Linked DNA regions of Homo sapiens: all the other regions are linked to region 2. Evidence: promoter capture Hi-C in 16 types of primary human blood cells and fetal thymus (Javierre and others, 2016). All regions are on one chromosome and are shown on one strand. Each heading gives the region's core, a stretch centred on a gene start or on the middle of the fragment in contact. The rest is flanking DNA. Distances are from core to core; before and after follow the strand shown.

Region 1 (3,356 bases), core at 380-2,879, 530 kb before region 2:
GAAGCCAGTCACAAAAGACTATGTATTGTGTGAATATATTCATACAAATGTCCAAGATAGGCAAATCTACCGACAAAAGGTAGATTCGTGATTGCCTAGGGCTGGGGCTGGGAAATGCTCAACAGGCAAAGACATGAAGGGAAGATATAAAGTCTCAGGCTGCATCTGGGGAGAGGGCAGGCTGGGCAGAGGCACGCTATGGCTGACGCTGGTGGAAGACCTGGCATCCAGAGGGCAGACCTGACCCCAGGGAGGAGACCTCCAGGCAGCTCTGCAGGCGGCAGGCTTGAGGGGGCATGAAGCCACCCACATCTGCTCTCCCTTTCACACAGGCTCCCCCGTTGCCTCCAGAGCCAAATCTAGGCCCCTGAGCCTTGCAGGGAGGGGTGGAGTTTGGAGTCACACAGGCCTGGCTTCAAATCTTAGCTCCACCACTTACTCGCTGTGTGACCTCTGGCAGGTAATACAACGATCTGAGCATGGGGCTTTCTTTGATAATTGGAAAAAGAGGGTATTTATTGGGAGTGTAACAATGGTACTCTCTGTAACAGGATTAAAACATGTCTGCAAATTCTTTGTTACTCTTCTCATGGAGAAGTGAGGTCTATGATCCTTTACCCTGAACCTGGGCCCCCTTGGTGACTGGTCAACCCACAGAGCTCCAGCCTCCTTGGAGTTCCCACAAGCCAGGCCCTGGCCAGGCACTTCCATGTCTTAACCTCATTCAATACAAGAACCCCATAAGGTTGCGGTTATAATCCCCATTTTACAAATGAGGAAATGAAGGCTCCCAAGCAGTTGATGTACCCAAGGTTGCACGGCTGATAATAATAACAATAACAGCTAATATTTTTGTAGAATTTACTGTATGCCAGACAAGGCTCTACACTAAGCAGTGTTCTAAACAATATTCACTCTGCTTTGTAAATATAGATTCATTTCATCCTCAAAAACTCTGTAAGGTGAACCCTATTGTTATCCCCATTTTACAGATGTGGAAACTAAAACACAGCGAGATTAGGCACCTGCCCAAGTTCCCACAGCTAGTCACAAATGGACCCTTATCCAAACGGAGGCGTTCTGGCACCAGATGCCTTCACAATCCCCCAGCATTGGGCACCCATCCTTCTCCTGCTTCTAGACTGGAAGTCCCCAGAGATCAAGAACTGCTCTCATTCCTGTTTCCCTTGCACTGGCCTGGCACACAGTAGGTACTCAGAAAACGTTTGCCAAGATGAAATTAATCATATGACATTGGGTCTGCTCTTCTGAAGGAACTATGCTTCTCTTCGCATCAGCGTCTCAGAAAGCCCTTCATCACGAACTCCACAAAATAACCAGGCCTGATTGATCAGTTTTTGCTTAGACGCAACTTTTTCTTTTTCTTTTTCATAGAGCCCATTTCTAGGTAGGCTCTCTCTATGTACACTAACGGGGGGGGGGGGAATGTGAATCCAATTAACTTCAAATTTAGCTCATAATGAACTTATCTCATTTTGCTACCAGCTCGGTTCTCATCGTGTGGCAGTAATTAACCACTGGGGGTTGTCACTCCCAGACACATGACACAGAAATCCTCCCAGTCCTTCGCTTCAAACCCTTGCAGAATTCATTACCCTGACAGTGTGAAAACCCTTCACTTTGAATACCATAGGGCACCAACCAAACTCCCCCTCCATCTACCTGACTGTGTGTGTGAGTGAGAGAAAGAAGGAAGCAAGCCATCGAGCAGCCATTAATTATTGTGAACAAGATGAGAGGTGGGGGCGGGATCCTGGTGATGGCTTGATGGCCCGAGAGGGTCTGCCAGCCTTGACAGCCCTGGGGCAAGAGGTCCTGCCCAGAGGAGGGAGATCTTAGCATACAAGGCCCAAACTATAAGGGAATATGGGGGAACTGGCTGGGAAAGGCAGAGCTCTTTGCGAACTGGCAACTCTGTCTGCTGGGGACTCCTAAGGTCCAGGAAGCCTGCACACTCCAGGCAACACGGATTGCTGTGTGACCTCAGGTAAACTTCACCCCCTCTCTGGGCCTTGGTTTCTGGGCCTTGGTTATCTGAATACTCAAGCAGTGGGAACAGATGGCCTCTGAGGGTTTTTTCCACAGTAACATTCCATAAGTCGGTGGCATCATTTCACCCCCATGTTGATGGAAAAGAAGGTGGGTATCAATTCCTACAGAGACAGATATGGCAGTGCCTGCTCGCTGTGGCCTCCACACTCTTGCCCACAGCATCAGACTTCCTGGAGCCCCTGAATTAAACCCGAGTGAAAGGAGGATAAGCATAAGGCACTTACAGAAGGAGATGGGAGTGGTCAGTCTGCAAATGAAATAAAATCTTCATTTTAGGCTGGGCGCAGTGGCTCACACTTGTAATCCCAGAACTTTGGGAGGCCAAGGCAGGAGGATCACCTGAGGTCAGGAGTTTGAGACCAGCCTGTACAACATGGCGAAACCCCATCTCTACTAAGAATACAAAAATTAGCTGGGCATGGTGGTGCACGCCTGTAGTCCCAGCTACTCAGGAGGCTGAGGCAGGAGAATTGCTTGAACTTGGGAGGTGGAGGTTGCAGTGAGCCGAGATTGCGCCACTGCACTCCGGCCTGGGCGACAGAGCGCAACTTCATCTCCAAAAAAACAAAAAAAAACTTCATTTTACATATTGTTCACTTTATATTTGTACAAGAGTTATGCTTTTAACTTTTTCTGAAGTATATTTTGACACCTGTTGTAGGAAAAGGTGAACAATGCCAAAGACAATGACATGAGCTGAAGATTTTCAACAAACCCCGAAGCAGATGACAGTGAACAAGTGCCACCTTAGGGAGAGGGGGAGAAACAGCTCAATACCCAGGACGTGGGGCGGGGATTCATCCTGCTACGCACACGTCGGTGCGTGTGTACACGTAGTGCATACGCCGCCAGGCTTATTCGTTCCAGCTGGTGTTGGAAATGTGTGGCAGTTTGAACAGGGTTGCTCTGGAGTCTCCCTTTGTCCAGACCTGCCACTAGTGGAGGGTATGCTGCTGACGGTAGATGCAGAGGGGGAATATTTCACCCGGAGGGGAAGGGCAGTGGGAATGGTGATGTAACAGCCTACCTCTGCCTGCAGACAATGGATGTGCTAATTGCAGATGAGCTGTATCCAGTCATTAAAGCGGATCTGGCAGGCTCCTAATGACAGGTTTATTAGCCATTAGTTTGGGTGGTGTTATTGACTTAGGAATAGTAACCCTCAATTTCTTTTCCCAAAATTACCTAATCCCCACTTTTAACTAATTCTGACTGACCTCCTTCTAATTGCCCTGGCTAAAGATCTAATCTGGATTTGTAGAGCCAGGAAGACAATCTCAGAA
Region 2 (3,791 bases), core at 1,081-3,580:
GTTGCCCAGGCTTGTCTCAAACTCCTGGGCTCAAGCAATGCTCCTGACTCAGCCTCCCAAAGTGCTGGAATTACAAACCATGAGCCACTGCACCTGGCCTGTTCCCAAAGAAACAAGAAAGATGTTTCTTGTACATCTTTCCAGGGATATTTAACACACAGAAATAGGTGGCCAGGTGTCGTGGCTCACGCCTGTAATCCCAGAACTTTGGAAGTGGATCGCTTTGAGCCCAGGTGTTCGAGACAAGCCCGGTCAACATAATGAAACCCTGTCTCTACAAAAAATACAAAACATTAGCTGGGTGTGGTGGCACATGCCTGTGGTCCCAGCTGCTCAGGAGGCTGAGGCGGGAGGATCATTGGAGCACAGGAGGTAGAGGTTGCAGTGAGCCAAGATTGCACCATTGCCCTCCAGCCTAGATAACAGACTGAGATCCTGTCTCAAAAAAAAAAAAAAAAAAAAAAAAAAAAGAATAGGCATATACTTTCTCCTATAAATGGTAACATATGCACTTTGCATCACCCTGTTTTCTCACTGGACAGTACATCTTGGAGATCATTCCACACTGGTACGCACAGAGCTGCCTCACTCTTTTGATTGATGCAGAGTATTTCACTGTGGGAATGAAGCATACGTAATGAACAGTCCCCTATGAGTGGACCTTTAGGTTGTTTCCCATATTTTACTATTCCAACAATGCCACAATGAAGAGCCTTTGGCAGATGGCATTTTGCACATGTGTGAACGCGTCTGTAAGGTAAATTCCTAAAAGCAAAATTTCTGGGTCAAAAAAGATGTGCAGTCTAAACTTTGATAGCTACTGCCAAACTTTCTTATTGAAGTTGCTGATTTACACTCCTACCAGCAACGTATGAAAGCACCTGGTTCCCCAATGTATTATTTTTTACATTGGTATCTTGCTGTAATTTTAATATGCAGTTCTTTTGTGAGTCAAGTTGAGCACTTTTCATCTTTTGTTTTTTTTTTTTGTTTGTTTTGTTTTTTTTTGTTTTAGATGGAGTCTCACTCTGTCACCCAGGCTGGAGTGTAGTGATGGGATCTCGGCTCACTGCAACCTCCATCTCCTGGACTCATGAGCAATTCTCCTGCCTCAGCCTCCTGAGTAGCTGGAATTACAGGCATGTGCCACCATGCCCACCTAATGTTTGTATATTCAGTACAGACAGAGTTTCACCATGTTGGCCAGGCTGGTCTCAAACTTCTGACCTCAAGTGATCCGCCTGCCTCGGCCTCCGAAAGTGCTGGGATTACAGGCATGAGCCACCGCGCCCAGCCATACATTTAAAGGCCATTTTCTTTTCTATAAACTGTCCATTGATATCCTTTGCTTATTCAGATAAGCTGGGCATCTTTGTCTTAGGAACTATTTGTGCAATAAGTAAATCAACCCCTTGTCTATAAAATGAGTTGCAAATATATGGTATTTTTCCCGGTTTGTTGTCTTATGATTTTGTTAATTTTTTTTTTTTAAGATAAACATAAGCCTGGTATTTCCAGGCACCTGGTATTTCCAGGCAGTCTCCCATACAAGCCCTAACCAGGCTTAGTTTCCAAGATCAGATGCATTCAGGATGGTACGGTTAATTTTTCAATGGAGAATTAGTTGTACTCTTATGGCTTCTGGCTTTCGCACACATAGCGTATCACTTATTTATTGCTGCATAAAGAATTACTCCAAAATTGAACGGCTTAGAGCAACAGCAGTCAGTGCATTATCATCTCTTATGGTTCCGGGGTTGACTGGGCTCAGCCAGTGATTCTCCTAAAGGCTCTTTCTTGCAGTTTTAGCTGTAGTCAGGTGGGAGTTGGCCTGGAGTCACCCGAAGGCTTCCTCACTCATACCTCTGGTCATTGACGGTGGCTGTGAGCCGGGCCCCTGGCTGTGCTGTTGGCCTGAACACCTACACGTGACCTCTCTGTGTGTCCTGGACTTCCTCACAGCCTGGAACCTGGGTTTCTACCCTGGGCCAACCCAAGAGACAGAAAAAGTGGGGGCTTTCAGTCTCTTAAGGCCTGAGCCTGTGGAAACAGGACCCTGAGCGTGTAGAAAAAGCAGGGCTCCCATGAGGCCTTGGACGGGATACTGCCCCCTCTCCCCCGGGGCCCTGATTCCCCAGTGGCACGAGGCGCACCCCCCCACACACACACAAGGACACTGTGTAGGGTCACTGTTACTGTCACTCCCCGAGCACGCACAGTCACCGCTCAGCCGCAACCCGGCGCTCCCTCTCGCGAAGCCACACCCCCTGCGCACGCCGCGCGCGACGTCTCTCCCGCCCACTCCAGCCTGGCCCCGCCCCGGCCCAGCTACATTCCCGGGCCAGCTTCTGTACTGCCAGGTCCGGGTCGGCGGCTGCACTGCGGATGAGACCGGTGCGACTCATGAAGGTGTTCGTCACCCGCAGGATACCCGCCGAGGGTAGGGTCGCGCTCGCCCGGGCGGCAGAGTAAGAGCCTCGCGCGCCGTGGAGGAGGGAGCAGGGCGGTCCCAGGGACCGGAGAGCCGGGCGGGGCGTTTGGGCCTTGTGGCCGGCTGGGGCAGGCTTGGAGTTTTGGGGAGTCTCGGAGAAAGTTCTCTGGGGCCCAGTTCTCCTCTTAAGACGACGCTGGGACCTGCAGTTCCGGCTTTGGAGAGGGGAGATTGCCCCTGAGGCAAGGTCCAGGCTAATTCTCCACGCTCCCACAGGACATGTGGGGTCAGGGACATGGCGGTCACTGACCAGGCCCTTGGACGTTTGGCAGGGGGCTTTGATGACTCTTCTTCTTTATATTTACTTATCTTTTTTTTTTTTTTTTTGAGACAGTCTCACTCTGCTGCACAGGCTGGAGTGCAGTGGCTCGATCGATCGTGGCTTACTGCAGCCTCGACTTCTTGGGCCCAATCAGTTCTCCCACCTGAGCCTCCCGAGTAGCTGGGACTACAGGCGCAAACAATCACTACCGGCTAATTTTCTGATTTTTTTTTTGTAGAGATGGGGGTCTCACTCTGTTGCTCAGGCTGGTCTCAAATTCCTGGGCTCAAGCAATCCTCTTGCCTCAGCCTCCCAAAGTGTTGGGATTACAGGTGTTAGTCACCATGACTGGCCTGAGGACCCTTTAATTTTTAAGACAGGGTCTCACTCTCATCCAGGCTGGAGTGCAGTGGCACCATTATACCTCACTGCAGCCTCAACCTCCTGGACTCAAGAGATACTTCCACCTCAGCCTCCCAAGTAGCTGGGACTACTACAGGCATGCACTACCATGCCTGGCTAATTTTTTATTTTTTTCAAAGACGAGGGTCTCACTGTGTTGCCCAGGCTGGTCCTGAACTCCTGTACGAAGGGATCCTCCCACCTCAGCCTCCCAAAGTGCTGGGATTACAGGCATGAACCACTGCACCTGGCCCACCCTTGCTAAATGGAACCCTTTTTGTGGGCCAACCTTGCCAGGTGCTTCATATACATAAACTTTTAATCCTGGTAGCACTGTGAAGTCAGTATTATAATTCCCATTGCACAGATTAAAAACTGGAGGCTGGACTTAGGGTTAAGTTTCTTCCCAAAGCCATGCAGCTCCCAGGTGGAGGAGCTGGGGCTTGTACTCAGAAGTGTCTGACTGCTGTCTGATCACTGCATTTGATCAGGTTTGTGTTTCCAATGTTAGATAGGAAGAGGATGCAATCCAGCCTCAGCAGCCAGTTCTAGGGGCATATGAGATTTTCAAATTTTGTTCACTGCAACAAAACCTTTGCCAAGGACCCACTTTGTACTGAGCAGGAGAAGGTGGAA
Region 3 (3,397 bases), core at 150-2,649, 550 kb before region 2:
TAAGGTTGAGTCCAGCCCTGTCCATCAGTGATGGACGGAAAAGCAGCTACAGAACACACAACGGCCTCTCCGTTGAACACACAACACGCTCCACACAGGCACAGCCCAATCTACACAGGGCTAACAGCCTTCAAAGCTTCTCCTGCAGAGCAGATTTCTCCAAAGCCAAAGGCAAGGCCCTCGGCTAGGGCCTCTGTTGAATCAATGTCTTTGCCGCTGCCCCCAGTGGCCAGCTCTACAGCCTACAAAATGTCCTGGATGGGGTGGTGGGGGGGGGGCCTTGGTTGGTCTCCTGCTTCCCAAGGCTAGATTCCAATTTCTTTGCATTTGTTTTTCCAAATGTGTCTGGCTCGTTCCTGGGGAGTTCTTCTCTACCCAGGAACCCCACACCCGCAGTGCCCATGGAAAAGCTATTCATTCACAAAGGTCCAGTGCAAAGTTGTAGGGGCTATGGGAAACTGCTTCAACCCAAGACTCTTCGGTATACACCTGGTGTCCCCGCTTAGACCTGCTCGTGCCACACCCTTCTTTTGCATCACACAATGAAAGCAATTTCTGGGCTGTAACACAGTGTTTCTAAGAGTCACACTCCAAATTGGCAAAATCCTTCCCTTGTCATCTAGACTGAACCACTTGCTAGCAAACCATTTAAGCCTCAGTTTTCACCTCTGTAAAAGGGGCTACCGTGAGGCTCCACTGCAATTATACATGAAAGGGGCACATGAATAGCAAAGCTCCGTCCAGGTGGGGGTTCGTCTTCTTAGCAGCATTGTGAACAAGACCCCACGATGGCCACAGCGGTCAGAAACCCTGCCCTGGCAGGACAATGCCCAAGGCATTTTTGGCCTGGGATTGCTCTTCAGGCGAAGGGTATGGTAACACAGTTGTCATTTCACATTTTTCCTTCCTCCCTCTTTTATCTCTCTTTCTCTTTTCCACTCCTTCTCTCTTCCTTTCTTTCTTTCTTTCAGCCCTGGATTTAAGTCTCCCTGTTTCGGGCCCTTTATTTGTGCCCGTTGCACATAGACTCCTTATAAAGAAAATTCATTTGTTCAGGGTCACCGCATGGTTTTTCATTAAAAACAAATTACCCGCATTCAGGGAGGACATCTGGGCTTCGCGGGTCCCATTAATGACTATATTTCCAGCCTCCCAGCCTGGTTGGGCTCCCCTTGCCTGTCACCCCGCGTTCCCGGCCCCGGGAGGACAATGAGAGTGACAGTCAAGTGAAAGGGAAAACATGAGGGATGAGGGCGAGAGGCAAGTCCCCCGAGAGGGGAAGGAGGGAAAAGTGAAAAAAATAAATAACTCAAACAGAGGGTAACAAGGGCCATTGTCTCAGCGTCTTCCTGCTAGAAGCCAGAGCAAATATTGGAAGAAGGACTGGGGGCGTGCCAGTAGCACTCAAGCCCTGTTTAATTACACAGTCCGACCCTAACTTGCCCTGGACTCTGGACCGGGCAAGATGGGGAGGGGCATGTGCTGTATTCAGATAAATCCCACCCACAGCTACTGAGCACCTACTGCAGGCAGCACCTACTGCAGGCAGGGCCAGGATCTGAGAGGAATTCCGGGCAGCCCTGACCTCAGACGCAGCCAGGAGACGGGCGCACGGGGTCTCTATGGCAGACCATGGGCAGTGCCCGGGGGGTGCACACAGTGGGGAGATGAGGGACTGCGGTGGGGGGCTTCCTGTAAGAGAGAGCCTTAAATTTGGGTCTAGGAACATGTGTCAAACACAGACAGGTGAGGATGGGGAGGGAGAAAGGAATATACCAGAATTCCAAGTGTGAGCTCCGTAGCATCCCAGCAGGAAGAGCTCTTCCTGGGCCATAAAAGAACTCGAGTTAGGAAGGCCACCTATGTCCCTGAGGGAGCACCTTCCCTGGCCCCAGAGCCCATAGATAGTCTCAATTTCCTCTCAGTCTCCATGGACACCGGAGGCTCAGAGACCCTAAGTTCCAGGCGCCAAGCCCAGCTGCTCCCTGACTGGCTATCCCCCTGGCAATGCAACACCACCTCCCGAACCCAGTCAGCCTGCCTCCGAGATGGATATGCTCACTCCAACCTCACAACATGCTTTCAAATGGCAACTGGGGCTAACAGCTGTGTGTCCCTTGATAACTCTAAAGCACCATGCAGGTTGGGGGTGGGGAAGCATGGGGCTTGTTGGTAGAATGAGCTTACGGGCATGGGTGGTTTGGCCCCATTTGAGAACACTCTCCTTTTGGAAGGCAGAAGCCAAGCTCCACTGGCTCTCACTGCCCTGAGGGCTTCGGACACTGCCAGAAGTTCTCTGGATAGCAGTATCCCAGGTGGAGTGACCCTCAGGGTTGGAGGCAGCGGTTGGTCCAGATGAAGACTGACAGCTGTCAGGGTCTTGGAGACAGGGGCTGCAGATCCCAGCAAGCCGAAGGGAGTCAAACTCTGACAGCCCCAGTAGATTAAAGCTGGGTTTCGGAAAGACTGCAGTAAGTACAGGAGCAAAGCACATCTCAGAACCTTTGTCTTCATTGTTCCTGCTCTGCCTGAAACACTCATCTTCTCCCTCCTCACTCCACCTCCCACTGGCTAACATATGTTTCTCTCTCAACAATAAACCTGAAAATTGTCTCTTCCTAGATTCCTCCCCTGCCCTAAGGGCAGCACCAGGGATGTCTTGGAAAGCTTTAGCTGTGCCCCTATTCTTTGATGTGTTTTCTCAATCTTAGCAAAACTCTCTGCAAAAGCACCCTCAGACATGCCTCCCACCCAGCCCTACTGTACAGAGATTCCAAGCCCCTCTGTGTCTGACATCCCCAGTCTAGGCTCCATCCCCCTTCTCTGTGTTCCCAGAGTCCCTGGGCTTGCCTGTTACCACAACTGGCCCCCATAGCCCCTCACAGATTTGCCTGACAAGGGTCATGAGTTTTGATCTTGTATCCTTAGGCTACTACCTGGCACATGTAGATGCTCAATAAATGTTGGAAGGGAGAAGGAAAGGAAGGAAGCGATAGTGGATGGATGGGTGGATAAATAGATGGATGGATGGATGAATAGATGGATGGATGGATAAATGGATGGATGGATGGATGGATGGATAAATGGATGGATGGATGGATAAATGGATGGATGGATGGATGGATGGATGGATGGATGGATGGATAAATGGATGGATGGATGGATGGATAAATGGATGGATGGATGGATAAATGGATGGATGGATGGATGGATAAATGGATGGATGGATGGATGGATGGATAAATGGATGGATGGATGGATGGATAAATGGATGGATGGATGGATGGATGGATAAATGGATGGATGGATGGATGGATGGATAAATGGATGGATGGATGGATGGATGGATGGATGGATGGATGGATAAATGGATGGATGGATGGATGGCCACTGCAAC

What was found. The method cuts DNA at HindIII sites, captures the fragments that hold promoters and counts their contacts. A CHiCAGO score of 5 or more calls a contact.
Region 1: a contact is called between a fragment that was not itself captured here and the fragment with the promoter of GRHPR in region 2, in 1 of 17 cell types (total B cells). The highest score is 5.9, in total B cells.
Region 3: a contact is called between a fragment that was not itself captured here and the fragment with the promoter of GRHPR in region 2, in 2 of 17 cell types (naive B cells and endothelial precursors). The highest score is 6.8, in naive B cells.

The regions. Positions count from the first base shown.
Region 1 is chr9:36,888,509-36,891,864 of GRCh38, forward strand. All of the region lies in intron 7 of PAX5 (paired box 5), which reads right to left. Among named protein-coding and RNA genes, the nearest start is that of MIR4476, 3.3 kb to the right of the region's middle. The HindIII fragment of the contact is 4,685 bases long and covers 1-3,356 here.
Region 2 is chr9:37,420,366-37,424,156 of GRCh38, forward strand. It overlaps GRHPR (glyoxylate and hydroxypyruvate reductase), which reads left to right and starts at 2,331. Exons shown (of 9, transcript NM_012203.2): 1 at 2,331-2,468. The coding sequence starts at 2,386. RefSeq lists enhancers at 1,677-2,302, 2,303-2,928 and a silencer at 2,143-2,292. The HindIII fragment of the contact is 7,938 bases long and covers 1-3,791 here.
Region 3 is chr9:36,866,793-36,870,189 of GRCh38, forward strand. The region is part of intron 8 of PAX5 (paired box 5); the gene reads right to left. Among named protein-coding and RNA genes, the nearest start is that of MIR4540, 4.2 kb to the left of the region's middle. RefSeq lists an enhancer at 1,148-1,839. The HindIII fragment of the contact is 2,531 bases long and covers 135-2,665 here.